3 separate regions of the Homo sapiens genome follow, and regions 1 and 3 are each linked to region 2. Evidence: promoter capture Hi-C in 16 types of primary human blood cells and fetal thymus (Javierre and others, 2016). All regions are on one chromosome and are shown on one strand. The core of a region is centred on a gene start or on the middle of the fragment in contact, and the rest is flanking DNA. Distances in the headings are between cores, read along the strand shown. Region 1 has its middle 300 kb from the start of CXCR4. Region 2 holds the start of CXCR4 (C-X-C motif chemokine receptor 4). Region 3 overlaps LCT (lactase).

Region 1 (2,984 bases), core at 427-2,926, 300 kb before region 2:
AAAGCGCCAAATCTGCTATACTGAATCCTGTTTAATGGTGGGAGGCACTCAGTAGTGTCACTTCCCAACCATGCTCTGATTTCCTTGTAGGGAATCACCTTGGCCCTCACTGTGTGCAGTCTTCGTGGGACAATAAAACCACGTGCCTGCCCTCCCAGAGTGGAAGCTGGAGGGGCTCCACGAGGCTCCTTCTGCTCTGTCCTTCCTCTCGCCAGCTTGATACAGGGCAGTCCTGTGACCTTGGCTCAGCCAATAGAATACTCGCTTCCCTGAGATGTTGAATCTTGACAGTGACACAAGGACAGACAAGAAATTAGGATCCATTGATTCCTGTGGAGCCCTGGAGAGAACAATGAGCAGAGCCCACTATAAGATGTTCTGGAACAATCTGGTGCCCACCTGCTCCAAGTTCCTCAGCCATCACTTCCATTATTTGACCCTGTAAACCTTCTTAAAAAGTTCATTAGTCCTTTTTTTGCTAAAGGTTGCCAAACTTTCTGTTACTTGCAACTAAGAAACTCGACTGGATACAATGAACATTCAGGGATCACAGTTAGGTATCAGTAAGCACCCACTATCTGTTAAAAATTAACATTCACCTGCTACCCAAAAATACAGTGGCAAAAAAAAAAAGGAGGCATCATTTTTCGCTCACACAGAAGAAATCCAAAAGTGCATTGTCCAGGGCTGGCGTGGTGCCCTATGGTGTTAGCGATGACCCAGGCTTCTTCTCACTTTCTGCTCCACCATCTTCCACTCAGATTCCATCCATGAGGTCTCCTCACCATCCCAGGACTGTCACTGGGACTTGTTATCCTAGCCATGTTCCAGGCAGGGAGAAGGGAGACGGGGAAAGGAATGGGTCTCCTGCCAGCCAGGTGAATCCCCTTGAAGGAATTTTGCTGGAAGTGACTTCCACTCACACCTCATTGACCACCCCAACCTCAAGGAAAGCTAACAAATATGTTTGTTTTTTTAAGCAGGGCATCTTGAAAAATTCAAAGAGATTTTAAATGTTCTCACCACAAAAAGATAAGTATGTGAGACAATACATATGTTAATTAGCTTGATTTAGCCATTCCATGATGGACACGTATTTCAAAACCCATTCTACATGATAAATATATGCAATTTTTATTTTTCAATTAAAAACAAATTAAAATCTTTAAAATTAGAAATTTTAAAATTAAAAACTAAATAAAAGTTGGAAGAATTGCCATACTCAAATATACAGGGATCTTATCCTAAAAAAACAAGAGAGCATGGATACTGGGTAGGCAACTGGCAATCTCTTTCACACACTGCTTTCTGGACAACTGCTAAGGAAAGGTATTCTGAGGACCATCACCCATCTTTCATCTTAGTTTCCCCTCAACCTTTCTTGGTCGATCCTGTCTAAAAAGATTCCCTAGTCAAAACTCTGGTTTTGAGGAAAATGACAGGAAATTTTCCATTTCCGTGGACCTCACTTGGAATCATCGTTCCACTAGGTCTTTATTGAATGACTTTGAAGACGACACTTAATTCTTCCAAACCTTAGTTGCCCAAAATGTAAAGTCTGTCTCAGTCAAGGACTGACCCAGGCAACAACCTGCAGTCCCTTCGAGGTTAAAGATGATGTAAAATTAGCATTTCTAATAGTCGGAATGTTCAACTACCTTGCAATGAGCAGCAAAGTAAAAGGGATATACAGGTCATGAAGTGGACAGAGCTTTCACAATTCTTCTCAGCCTTTGACCCCAGGAAGGGTTTGACTTGTGCCTTGAGTTCAGATAGAAATGTGTCTCCTTGGATTTCCTTGGAAGTTAAAGAGAAAAAGCTACTGTGACCCAAGGGGTAAACTCACCTAAGGGAGCTGGCGGGGAGGGAGTTAATTTCATCTTTATGGCCAAAATATTTCTAAGTCCCTCTTGGAAGACAATTCTCCATGTGTCTGACTGCCTTTGCTGGAGACTATCTTTCCCAGGATGTTTGTATAGAGAGCAGCCTTGGAAGACAGAAATTGTGCCTCCCTCCAGAGCAAAGAGCAAGGTTGTTTATTGCCCACGTCATAAAGATGGCATCTGCCTCTGGAGTTAAGCCCAGCCATGCTTATTCCCTGTTAGAAAAGATTTGGATTCCCTGAACTCAGGGTACCTCTGTAACACAACTCACTGCACACACAGGCATTACCTGGCCTTCTCCACATTGCCCTGATACAAATGTTGATATTCTGGTTACTGCTAATGTGGAATATAGTAAAGTTATTTGTCTCTGACCCAGGAGTCCACCAGCATCCATTAAACTGTGGCAGGTTAACTTGTCGGCTGGCAAGTGGGGTAAAATCCCAGACCAGTCACAGTCTTAATGTCCCTTTCTTCCTTGTCACCGCCCCCTGTCCCTGACCTACCTCCCAGATGTAAACACTGGCTTAGCACCCAATCAATCCTCGGAAATATATTTTTAACACTTGCAGTTAAATTATAGAAATCTCGAAGTAATTATCTGTGTATTTTAAAGAACTCCCCAGATGCTGAAATATTTCTTCCAGGCACTTAGTCCCTTGCTATGCCCAAATCCTTGGCATGACATGGTTAAAGAATACTTGCCATATCCATGGACCTTTCTCATGGGACACCCACATAAGGCACAAATAGGAGACTGTGTGTCAACCGAAGACTCCAGAAGAGATCTAAGAGTAATGGAAGATGTGTATTTATCTCCCACTTTCATCTTCCCACATTATCTGTCCAAACAGTCGATAGTTGATTTTTTTTTTCCAAGAACTGGAAAGTTAAAGGAATGGGACTGTAAATAATAGGCTAAGCTGATGGTGGGTGAAATGGTCCAGGCTGTTTGACTTTTCAATATTAAAAACCTTCGGTCACCCCAAATACACACAAAGAATGATCAGATAGAAAATAATCTTCTCTTGTTCATACCCAACAATCTGTTGTCATCTGCCAGGGCTACAGCAGAAATCAAACACTGAACAGTAATAAAAA
Region 2 (2,975 bases), core at 344-2,843:
CTAACTCGTTCGTTTCTGAGAGTCCCATCTCCCGGCCCGGATATCATCTTTCCTGTGTCAGTGAAAGTGCAGAGTAGATGAGAACCTTTAACCACCAACATTAGGGAGGGGTCCCAGACAAAGGGGGAAAGTCATGCTCTGTAGAGAAAAGGTTCCCTGCCTCCGAACTACCTCTGGAACACTCCAGACTGAAATGTTTCCTCTTTTGATATAGAAAAGAGGGATCGTGTGTAGAGTGCAGTCTGGGCAATCCCTCTCCTCGGGACCATTTCGGGGTGGGGGCCTCTGGGGTCCGTGTCGCGACGCACGCGCCTCGGTCCCAGCTATCTCCGCAGCGGCCACCCCGCCTGCGGACGCAGTTTCTCGGCCCCGCCCCACACTCGCTCCCCCGCCCCACCCAGTCTCCGCGCCGGAGGGAAGTGGCGCGAGGGGGAAAGCACTGTCTGCGCGCCCACTGCAAACCTCAGCCAGTCTGAGATCGCTTTAAACGTCTGACCCCCACCCCCACTCCGCCCCGCCCAGTTCTTCAACCTAATTTCTGATTCGTGCCAAAGCTTGTCCTCTGCTCAAAATCGTGGAAGACGCCGAGTATGGGGACCGAAGACCTGGGTTCAAGCCCGGCTTGGAATCCCTGCCCATCCCTGGCATTTCATCTCTCCGGGCTTATTTGCTGGTTTCTCCGAATGCGGGCCTTGTCTGGTTCACGCTGGATCCCCAACGCCTAGAACAGTGCGTGGCACGCAGTTCGTCCTTCTATAAATATCGGACTAAATGCATCTCTGTGATGGTAATACCCACACGGTGTTGTGAGAATGAATGAGTGATTCTGTGCAAGTTCCTAGTGATCTGTTACAAAAAGTACTGGTCGCTAAATTACTCTTATAATAAAGCATACTTTTAGGATAATAAAGCACTATTCGCGAATTGGTTACCGCTATTATGAAATTACTGAGCAATACATATCTACATCTGATCAGTCTCCAGAATTATGCCAAATCCTACCTTCTTCTGAAAGTATCTCCTAATTATCTGCACCTGACCCTAGTGATGCTGTGAATGTGCAAGTATAGCTACATCCTCCGAAGGAAGGATCTTTACTCCTTTTACCTCCTGAATGGGCTGCGTCTGCTGAAAGCGCGGGGAATGGCGTTGGAAGCTTGGCCCTACTTCCAGCATTGCCGCCTACTGGTTGGGTTACTCCAGCAAGTCACTCCCCTTCCCTGGGCCTCAGTGTCTCTACTGTAGCATTCCCAGGTCTGGAATTCCATCCACTTTAGCAAGGATGGACGCGCCACAGAGAGACGCGTTCCTAGCCCGCGCTTCCCACCTGTCTTCAGGCGCATCCCGCTTCCCTCAAACTTAGGAAATGCCTCTGGGAGGTCCTGTCCGGCTCCGGACTCACTACCGACCACCCGCAAACAGCAGGGTCCCCTGGGCTTCCCAAGCCGCGCACCTCTCCGCCCCGCCCCTGCGCCCTCCTTCCTCGCGTCTGCCCCTCTCCCCCACCCCGCCTTCTCCCTCCCCGCCCCAGCGGCGCATGCGCCGCGCTCGGAGCGTGTTTTTATAAAAGTCCGGCCGCGGCCAGAAACTTCAGTTTGTTGGCTGCGGCAGCAGGTAGCAAAGTGACGCCGAGGGCCTGAGTGCTCCAGTAGCCACCGCATCTGGAGAACCAGCGGTTACCATGGAGGGGATCAGTGTAAGTCCAGTTTCAACCTGCTTTGTCATAAATGTACAAACGTTTGAACTTAGAGCGCAGCCCCTCTCCGAGCGGGCAGAAGCGGCCAGGACATTGGAGGTACCCGTACTCCAAAAAAGGGTCACCGAAAGGAGTTTTCTTGACCATGCCTATATAGTGCGGGTGGGTGGGGGGGGAGCAGGATTGGAATCTTTTTCTCTGTGAGTCGAGGAGAAACGACTGGAAAGAGCGTTCCAGTGGCTGCATGTGTCTCCCCCTTGAGTCCCGCCGCGCGCGGCGGCTTGCACGCTGTTTGCAAACGTAAGAACATTCTGTGCACAAGTGCAGAGAAGGCGTGCGCGCTGCCTCGGGACTCAGACCACCGGTCTCTTCCTTGGGGAAGCGGGGATGTCTTGGAGCGAGTTACATTGTCTGAATTTAGAGGCGGAGGGCGGCGTGCCTGGGCTGAGTTCCCAGGAGGAGATTGCGCCCGCTTTAACTTCGGGGTTAAGCGCCTGGTGACTGTTCTTGACACTGGGTGCGTGTTTGTTAAACTCTGTGCGGCCGACGGAGCTGTGCCAGTCTCCCAGCACAGTAGGCAGAGGGCGGGAGAGGCGGGTGGACCCACCGCGCCGATCCTCTGAGGGGATCGAGTGGTGGCAGCAGCTAGGAGTTGATCCGCCCGCGCGCTTTGGGTTTGAGGGGGAAAACCTTCCCGCCGTCCGAAGCGCGCCTCTTCCCCACGGCCGCGAGTGGGTCCTGCAGTTCGAGAGTTTGGGGTCGTGCAGAGGTCAGCGGAGTGGTTTGACCTCCCCTTTGACACCGCGCAGCTGCCAGCCCTGAGATTTGCGCTCCGGGGATAGGAGCGGGTACGGGGTGAGGGGCGGGGGCGGTTAAGACCGCACCTGGGCTGCCAGGTCGCCGCCGCGAAGACTGGCAGGTGCAAGTGGGGAAACCGTTTGGCTCTCTCCGAGTCCAGTTGTGATGTTTAACCGTCGGTGGTTTCCAGAAACCTTTTGAAACCCTCTTGCTAGGGAGTTTTTGGTTTCCTGCAGCGGCGCGCAATTCAAAGACGCTCGCGGCGGAGCCGCCCAGTCGCTCCCCAGCACCCTGTGGGACAGAGCCTGGCGTGTCGCCCAGCGGAGCCCCTGCAGCGCTGCTTGCGGGCGGTTGGCGTGGGTGTAGTGGGCAGCCGCGGCGGCCCGGGGCTGGACGACCCGGCCCCCCGCGTGCCCACCGCCTGGAGGCTTCCAGCTGCCCACCTCCGGCCGGGTTAACTGGATCAGTGGCGGGGTAATGG
Region 3 (2,846 bases), core at 196-2,695, 290 kb after region 2:
CCACCACACCCGCTGGGCTGCTGTAACTTTTTGTTTTGGAAAATTTCTAACATCCAAAAGTAAAAAGAATGATGAACCCCTACGAAGCCATCTCCAGCTGCAAGAGCTATTATTGGCTCATAGCTAATCTTCTTTCACCTAACCTATAACTTCTATCTCCCAAACTAGATTTTTAATTAAAAAAAATTTTTTTTAGAGACAGGATCTTGCTCTGTCACCCAGGCTGGAGTGCAGTGGTGCAATCATAGCTCACTGCAGCCTTAAACTCCTGGGCTCAAGCGATCCTCCTGGCTCAGCCTCCCAAGTAGCTGGAACTACAGGCATGCACCACCACACCCAGCTAACCAAACTGGATTATTTTGAAGCAAATCCCAGACATCCATAGATGGTGGCCTCTTAACTAAGCTTCTTAAGTAGCACAGGCTCTGGATGTGAGCAGTGGCCTTGTTCCTGATCCTAACACCGTGCCTGGCTCTAAGAGGTGCCCTGTAAGCCTGTGATGAAAGAAGAGGTGAAGGTGGGGGTTGGTGGGGAGGGTAGACTATGTTATTGAAAATTGTAGATCTTTCTCCTTCAGAGTCTAGAGTTGACTCCTTTAATTAACTGAGATACTTAGAGGTCATTTCCAAAGCCAGAGTAAGTGCCACAGCTTCTCATCTTGAAACTCTGTCCCTGTTATCAAGATGCTTTCCAGGAGGCTTCAGTTCACTTGCTGGTCCTTCTCTTTTTCAGACCATTGAGCCAAAAGTGAAAGTTTTCATCTTCAACCTAAAACTCCCAGACTGCCCCTCCACCATGAAGAACCCAGCCAGTCTGCTCTTCAGCCTTTTTGAAGGTGAGTGGGCCATTGCTGAAGAGGTTTTGAGTGACATCTGGTGCACTGGTGTGCTAGGTAGCAGTCTTGAAAGTCCGGGGTTCCAATGGGAGGAGGAGCATGGGAGGAAGACTAGTATAAAAGCCCACCCCAGACTGGGTTAGTGTACTATGCCTTCCTACTGATGGTCCCTTGCAACCATCCCCCATTGACCCAAGAAAGAGGAGAGGTTCGACACAAGGATGCCTCTTATGGACATAAAGATAGTTAGGCCTCAGCTGTGAGTTGTAAGCATGGAAAATCATCTTTGCCTCCTTTTATTACCTCTCCCTCCAAGGTCTCTCATCTCTGCTCCTCTTGGCAGGGCTTTCCTCTGCCCGTCTCTCTCCAGCCAGCCCTCTCCACTTACCCTTGTTCCATGTCCCCATTATCTCAGTTTGCACATGGCCCTGGTGGGTACCTGACCAAGATGCTAAGAACTTTCAAGTGTAGGACTCACAGCTCAAGGGCCATCTTCCTAGTGTCTCTTAGTTCAAATTCTTGAAAGTGAATCTGATTGTTGGCCATGGATCAGGAGGCTGCTTCTGGTCCAATCAAGTCAGGGGAAAGGTGGGGTCTATGATAGCATTGAGGCTGGCAGTCACTGGAGACTCTGCAAGAAGGGAGGAAGGGGCAGAGAGGAATGTGCCTGAGGGCCCTGATATTCACTCTTGTCTGTCTGTCACTCTTGTCCATAGGCCAGAGTATGGGAGAAGTCAGTAGTGTTCTTTCTACCACTGTGTCTTAGTCTGTCTTGTGTTGCTATAATAGAATACTCTAGACTGCGTAATTTATAGAGAAAAAAGGTTTATTTAGCTCATGGTTCTGGGGACTGGGAAGTTCAAGATCAGGCAGCCACATCTGGTCAGCTTCTGGTGAGGGCCTCATGCTGCATCCTAACCTGGCAGAGAAGTGGAAGGGGAAGGAAGTGCCTGCAAACAGATAAAACACCAGAAGCAGCCTCACTTTATAACAACCACTGTATGGTAACTAATCCAGTCCCACTAGAATGGGAACTCACTCACTCCCTGGAGACTGCACTAATCCCTGAAGGCGGATCCCTCATGACCCAAATGCCTCTTAAAAGTCCATAACCTCTCAATAATGTTACACTGGCAATTAAATTTCAACATGAGTTTTTGTAGGGACAAACCACATCCAAACCATAGCACACCTGGACCCCATCCCAGCAATGGGTTGGCTCCACAGGGCCCCTGAAGTTTATCCATAGATACCATTTAATAATGCTTATCTGAACTCACCTTTGATGGCATAACAATTTCTGTTCTTAGATCCCACCTCTCTCTAAGTGGTTAAAATTGTACCTTTTCTGTTTATGCGTATTTTACCACAATTTTAAAAATATTCCACCCCTTTCTGATCTTTGAGTTCTTCTAAATCAATTGTTCCCAAAGTTGTGGTCCCCAGACCAGCAGCATCAACATTAGCATCACCTGGGAGCTCATTAGAAATGCATATTCTTGAGCCCTACTTGAGACCTACTGCATCAGACACTCTTGGGGTGGGACCAGCAACCTGTGTTTTAACAAGCTCTACAGATGATTTTGATTCACCTTGAAGTTTGAGAACCACTTTTAAGTAATAAGTAAGTAGAATTCACTTCTAAGCTTTTAAAGTCGTTAGCCCATGGTATTTTCCAAAGGGGCTTGGAACCACTGCTTGGAGTTTGGGTGTGTCGTATGAGCGAGGAAAACTGTTGATTTCAGACTTGCATGTTCTTAGTTGGCATTTACATAGAGTTAATTCAATTTCTTCTCTTACAGCCATAAATAAAGACCAAGTGCTCACCATTGGGTTTGATATTAATGAGTTTCTGAGTTGTTCATCAAGTTCCAAGAAAAGGTAATGTCAGGTTGCCTATTGAACTATCAATAACTGATATTTGTAGAATACTCTGTTTCTTTTACATGTATAATCTTATAGGACTGTTGTCATCAACTCTTGGGCCACCAAGTTGTTTATTGCCATTCAA

What was found. The method cuts DNA at HindIII sites, captures the fragments that hold promoters and counts their contacts. A CHiCAGO score of 5 or more calls a contact.
Region 1: a contact is called between a fragment that was not itself captured here and the fragment with the promoter of CXCR4 in region 2, in 1 of 17 cell types (naive B cells). The highest score is 7.2, in naive B cells.
Region 3: a fragment that was not itself captured here is called in contact with the fragment with the promoter of CXCR4 in region 2 in 1 of 17 cell types (fetal thymus); the score reaches 7.1 in fetal thymus.

Annotation. Positions count from the first base shown.
Region 1 is chr2:136,417,703-136,420,686 of GRCh38, reverse strand. No RefSeq gene overlaps it. Among named protein-coding and RNA genes, the nearest start is that of CXCR4, 300 kb to the right of the region's middle. The HindIII fragment of the contact is 7,220 bases long and covers 1-2,984 here.
Region 2 is chr2:136,116,767-136,119,741 of GRCh38, reverse strand. CXCR4 (C-X-C motif chemokine receptor 4) reads left to right here and starts at 1,593. Exons shown (of 2, transcript NM_003467.3): 1 at 1,593-1,696. The coding sequence starts at 1,682. RefSeq lists an enhancer at 2,602-2,671 and a silencer at 2,802-2,971. The HindIII fragment of the contact is 7,141 bases long and covers 1,159-2,975 here.
Region 3 is chr2:135,821,890-135,824,735 of GRCh38, reverse strand. It overlaps LCT (lactase), which reads left to right. Exons shown (of 17, transcript NM_002299.4): 4 at 733-835; 5 at 2,638-2,716. It overlaps LCT-AS1 (LCT antisense RNA 1), which reads right to left. Exons shown (of 2, transcript NR_045486.1): 2 at 1,649-2,846. Among named protein-coding and RNA genes, the nearest start is that of LCT-AS1, 3.1 kb to the right of the region's middle. The HindIII fragment of the contact is 2,076 bases long and covers 408-2,483 here.